Regions from separate parts of the Homo sapiens genome. Here region 2 is linked to region 1. The links are contacts of gene promoters, found by promoter capture Hi-C in blood cells and fetal thymus (Javierre and others, 2016). All regions are on one chromosome and are shown on one strand. Each heading gives the region's core, a stretch centred on a gene start or on the middle of the fragment in contact. The rest is flanking DNA. Distances are from core to core; before and after follow the strand shown. Region 1 holds the start of MGARP (mitochondria localized glutamic acid rich protein). Region 2 overlaps SETD7 (SET domain containing 7, histone lysine methyltransferase).

Evidence for each region. Contacts are between HindIII fragments. The CHiCAGO score rates a contact against its expected background, and 5 or more counts as called.
Region 2: a contact is called between a fragment that was not itself captured here and the fragment with the promoter of MGARP in region 1, in 2 of 17 cell types (activated CD4 T cells and total CD8 T cells). The highest score is 6.2, in activated CD4 T cells.

The regions. Positions count from the first base shown.
Region 1 is chr4:139,278,939-139,281,758 of GRCh38, forward strand. It overlaps MGARP (mitochondria localized glutamic acid rich protein), which reads right to left and starts at 1,287. Exons shown (of 4, transcript NM_032623.4): 1 at 1,139-1,287. The coding sequence starts at 1,220. RefSeq lists an enhancer at 1,042-1,251. The HindIII fragment of the contact is 26,288 bases long and covers 1-2,820 here.
Region 2 is chr4:139,546,130-139,549,156 of GRCh38, forward strand. It overlaps SETD7 (SET domain containing 7, histone lysine methyltransferase), which reads right to left. Exons shown (of 8, transcript NM_030648.4): 2 at 791-920. It also overlaps the pseudogene FTH1P24. Among named protein-coding and RNA genes, the nearest start is that of SETD7, 8.6 kb to the right of the region's middle. RefSeq lists a silencer at 2,136-2,322. The HindIII fragment of the contact is 401 bases long and covers 1,190-1,590 here.

The DNA.
Region 1 (2,820 bases), core at 37-2,536:
CCACCAACAGAGGCCTAATCAACGTGAAAAAAAAATCGGCCCATGGAATTCTCCGCGCACATCTTTCTCTCCTGCTGGAATCCACCCTCTGGGGTAAAATTATCTCGGAAGGCTCAGAAAGTGAGGCTAAGTGAAGAGAGCATTAAGAACCCTTCACGATATTGTCTAAGAGCCGTCCCCCAGTCGTGAGTGGAAGAGAGAGGGGTGACGGATGGGGACTAGGGAAAAGCGGCTGGGGCAGAACCGCCCTGGAGCGCAAGCCTGGTCCCAGAAGAAAAACAATCTTCCTTGCTCACACCTATTAAGCACCTACTATGTTCCCAGCACTATACGAAGCGCTTTCCTATATGTCCGTTTTTATTTAATAAGCCTCCAGTTCACACTGCAACTCCCCCTTTAGTTAATTGCTGAGTATTCTGCTTTTTCTCGCGTATCCTCAGAACCAAAGGTGTCGATATTTGGACTACAGAGCCAAGCAGTTGCAGGACGACGTGCAACCTCAAAGGAAAGTGTCCCGAAGGCCGCTTCCTTTTTGGGGGTTGTGGATCTCAGAGCCAGGCGCTCGCGGGGTTCAGGCTGCTGAGACCCTGCCAAGGGTTAGGTTTATTTACCCCACGAACATTCGCCCAGCGTCCACTGAGCGGGCCCTGCCTCACTGCCTCCCAGCGCTTGCCGGGCCCGCTCGCTGATCGGCGTCCACCTTCCCACCGTTCCTCTGCTTCCTCAGGAGATTGGAGAGCGAATGGTGCCTCTAACAATAAAAGTGGTAAGCTGCGACTTTGTCAGCCAGGCACGTTTTTAAGTGCTTTTAACCATACATTAACTCATTAAAAAGGAAAACCATCATCGCCCTCATTTTATAGATGAGGAAACAGGTTAAGCCATTTGTCCAAGATCAGGATGCGAACCCAGATAATCTGGACTCTGAGGCACCCTGGAAAAGTTCCCTACTTCCAAAGTCTGCAGGAGCTTCGGGACGTCTTCCCGGGAGTCTCCCCCAGTCTCCTCGACCTCCAATCCAGGCTTCTGCTGCTCTGGGTCGGGTTTGGCCAACTGGGTGCCGGCCGGTTCCCTGGCGCGGGCGAAATCTGCACCCGAGGCGCCCGTCCTCCTCTCCGGGCTAGACCTCCTTACTCACCGTCCTTTCCGAGCGGCGCGGGGTTGGGGGGCGCCCTCAGCGGCAGCGCCAGAGTCTTGGAGACCGCCCTGCGGAGATACATCGCGCCCGCTGTCCGCCGCGCAGCAGCCTCGGTACCCAGGCGCAGGCTGCCCTTCCACAGAGAGGCTGAGAGCCTGGCAGCGCCCCGCCCGGAGGAGGCACGTCGACCTTCATCCAGCCCCGCCTCCGCGGCCCCCGGGAGGTGGGGAGACCTTTGTAGTCCTCACCATCCTCCCCTAACCCATCTCCAGCTCTGTTGCTATCCCTGAGGTCTCTAGAGCTGACCGCGGCATCTCAGAAAAGGGATGGGGAACCTACAAGTCGCCGTCGCCTGCCTGGCTCATTCTGTACCACTGAATGTAACTCCTCACAGCAAGCTGGAAATGTTTTGGGAATTGGACGAGATTAAGACAAGGACACAGTTTATCACGCTGGATGTAATCTGAAACCATTTTATCTCCTGCATTCCGTTAGCTTTCCTAGGAGAGGGAAGGATAGCTGGAAGTTTCTTAAAAATGAGAAGAGCGAAGGGGTAGCCTCAGCCTTCCATTAGCGCACTGGGTGATGCTCAGAATCGTAAGAAAATCTGCAGACAATGGTTGAATTTCTAGACAGCTCACTGTTAAAACGACTTTAAAATATCAAAAACACTGTATATTCCTCTATGGGATGTGAAATTAATATTTCCACATCAGCGGCCGGGCACAGTGGCTCACGTTTATAATCCCAGCACTTTGGGAGGCCGAGGCAGGCGGATCACTTGAGGTCAGGAGTTGGAGAGCAGCCTGGGCAACATGGTGAAACCCCGTTTCTACTAAAAATACAAAAAATTAGCCGGGAGTGGTGGCGCGGGCCTGTAATCCCAGCTACTCGGGACGCTAAGGCAGGAGAATCGCTTGAACCCGGGAGGCGGAGGTCGCAGTGAGCCGAGATCATGCCACTACATTCAAGCCTGGGTGACAGAGCAAGACCCTGTCTCAAAAGCAAAACAAAACAAAACAAAAACCCCAAAAACAAAACAAAACAAACAAAACAAAAAAACACATCAACTAAAAATACTAAATTATTAGTTTTCCGTCTCATCGTGGCTACAAGAACTTGTCATGGTTTGAATATGGAAACCAATAATTTATTACGTTTATAACATTGTCTAAATGATTACTCTTTGGAAGACACCATTTCCTACTATAATAATCCCTTATGTGTGTTTGGCACTTGAAAGATTATAAAGCACTTTCACATCTATTATCTCTTTTAATTTTCACTGCAACCCTCTGAGGGAGGTGGCAATTATTCCCTTTAGCAAATGCCACCACCAGGTGGTGGGTGGGAATGTCCAGGGATTTACTGGTGGTCATGAATTAAAAAACAAAAAGGACATGAACATAATACTTCTAGCTTAAAGTTCTATTGGCATGTAACAGGCACAATATTTGTTCATTTGCTATGTAAATAGACGTTTCTCAGAAGTTATAGTCCTGAACCTAATTATAATTATATTTAACATATTCTCATAAGAAGAGTACAAGCCAATGATCAGATTGGTTTTTTGATACTCAGAAAGAGAGTTAACTAGTTTAATCACTAGGGTGACAGAGCGAGACTCAGTCTCAAAAAAAAAAAAAGTTTACAACATAGATGGGTGTGGTGGTACATGCCTG
Region 2 (3,027 bases), core at 140-2,639, 270 kb after region 1:
AAAATAAAAGAAATCCTGTTGTGAAAAATACTGTAACTAGAGGTACACTGTGGAAAATCATAGTTCTGACATTAGTATTAAATTATCACACAAAAAGACCAACTATCCCAAAGACAGGCATTTAAAAAATTGAAGTCTAGAGAGTTGCCCTCCTGTGTGTACCTGTTTATGTCTTATTACTGGGACTGCAATGATGTGGCTTTGAAGAACTTTGCCAAGCATTTTTTCATCAATCTCATGAGGAGAGGCAACAAGCTGAGAAACCGATGAAGCAGAAGAACCAACAAGGTGGCAGAATCTTGCTTCGGGGTACTAAGATGCCAGATTGTGACATCTGGGAGAGTGTGCTGAACGCAATAGAGTGTGTGTGACCCTTGGAAAAAAGTGTGAATCTGACTTTACTGGAACTGTGCAAACTGGCCACTGACAAAAACGATCCCCACTTGTGTGACTTCAGGGAGATGCGCTACCGGAATGATCAAGTGAAATCCATCAAAGAATTGGGTGACCATGTAACCAACTTATGCAAGATGGGGGCCCCCAAATCTGGTATCTTTTGGCCAAGCACACTCTGGGAGACAGTGATGACAAGAGCTAAGCCTTAGGCTGGCTGTCCCATAACCACAGGGTGACTTCCCCAGTCACCAAAGCAGTGCCTACAGGTAGGGGTTAATTTTACCCATTGAATAAATTGTAGAAAAACTTCCACTTGAATTCTTTCGTTTGTATTAGTCCTTAACATAAAATAATTCGGTACCCCCAAAGAACAAAATAAAACTGTGAGTGCTACCTGCCATCAAAGAAGAAGAACTTCCCCCGTCCGTTCTTTTCTCCGTGAACAAAGTTCCCCTCAAATCTGTCTGTGGAGGAGTAGGTGACTGTGCAGAACCCGTGCGGTAATCCGTCATCGTCCAGGTGCCCTGGAGAAAGGGAACCACAAGGCAAACCTTAACATCTTCAGTGCTCCTCCCATCTGACGTCTAAGCATTCAGATGCTGCCAGACAAGTCCCCCACCCAACTCCCCTCCAGCTGCCAAAGGGTCCCCTCCCTGGAAAGAAAGGGTAGTCAGCGTGCAAAAGTTTCTCACCTCATCGGCACCAGCAGTACCAAATTGATTGTTATGTACACTTTGTGAACTGATAGGTCCAGAACAGACTTAGACACATTCCAGAATATGAACTTTAAATAAGCTTGCTTTTTACCTGGAACTGAGAGTCATTATCAGTAATATTATCTGCAGGGCATGTCACAATTTACCAAGTACTCTCCCGAGAGTCCTCATATTTGGAATTGATGCCTCCAATCTCTCATGCTTAACTGAAGTGTGGTTGAGATTCCACTGTTTTATAGTCAATTGCCACATACACAGTCTTTGGAATAAATTATCTAATTCTAGAACATTAAGTATGCAATATGATTTTATACATCATTCTATAATATGATGTGGAGGACTGCTAGCCAGTCTGAAAATCTCACTGTTATTGTTATATTCACACAAGGAACAGTGTCATATCTTTAAAACTGCCCTAAGATTTATATAGCTCATTGTACAAACACAGAAACCCAGAGTCCTTCTCACCTTAAACTTAAGCTTAACCTTAAACCTACTGGTTTACTTTACAAAATCTTTCAGCTTTGAATGTTTAGTAATAACCTTATCCTATACCGTCCACCACTGTGTCTCAGAGGGCTTGTGTTTTAAATGGAGCCAGAGTATGCACATGGTCATTTAAGCAATGATTGTGAACATCAGCAGAAGTTATTACATGGACTTTTAAGTCACTGGTTATTCCTAGGTCAAAGATTGGTATAGTTTAATACTGACATTTACAGTCAATGTTTATGCTTTTTATTACTATCTACATGTTTTACAAAACCCAGGAATCACCTTATTGGTGTCTTCCCAATCATTCTGGTGAGCTGATTTTGCAGAGGTGGGTGAAAATGAAGGCAGTAGTTATTCTACTGGCTTTTTCTTGGGGTAATAACCTGGGTCATGGAGAGAAAAGGTATGAAAACATTAAACACTGTGTCTAATGCAGGGACATTAAACATTGAAATGTAGCTTCCAGATGGCTCACAGACATAAAAGGCAACACAAACCATACTACCACAGTGAAAGCTTTAGTCTCCTCAAATAATTTATTCTAACATGATAAAAGAATATTAGCCCTTGGAAAAGATGGTAAGTACACACTCTTATAAAGAATAAATATGCGGCCGGGCATGGTGGCTCACGCCTATAATCCCAGCACTTTGGGAGGCTGAGGTGGGTGGATCACCCTAGGTCCAGAGTTTGAGACCAGCCTGGCCAACACAGTGAAACCCCGTCTTTACTAAAAATACAAAAAATTAGCCAGGCATGGTGGCGGACGTCTGTAATCCCAGCTACTCAGGAGGCTGAGGCAGGAGAATCGCTTGAACCCAGGAAGCAGAGGTTGCAGTGAGCCAAAATTGTGCCACTGCACTCCAGCGTGGGCAACAAGAATGAAACTCCATCTCAACAACAACAATAAAAAGAATAAATATGCTCTTTATTTGTATCATTAATTACATAAACATAAAATAGCTGCAAACAACTACAGTGTTTTATTGCTACATCTGACTCTGTATACAATGGGTTACCTAGAACATCTTACAATAAGACACATCTACTTAAATAAATCATAATCAATATGGATCCCTTCCTCTTAACACAAAAGAGGAAAGGCCCAGGAAATTAATGGTCAGAAGGGAACTAGGCCATAATTGCTTTCTTCTCGCTCAAAAACTAATTGTACATGACATAAATTCAATGACATTTGAGTCATATGAAATCACTTGGACAATTATTTTCTAAATATCTGATGCCATTTCTCTCATTGAAATAAATTAAATTTGCTTTTTTCTTTTCATTAAAAAAAGCCACTCAGTGTATTGCTAAGAGCTTTTTTTAGTGAAATGTTGTTGCGATCAAGTTAAATTTAGGCATATAAATTCAGTGTCCTACTTTTGATTTAGGTATTAATATCCAAATAATCAGTTTA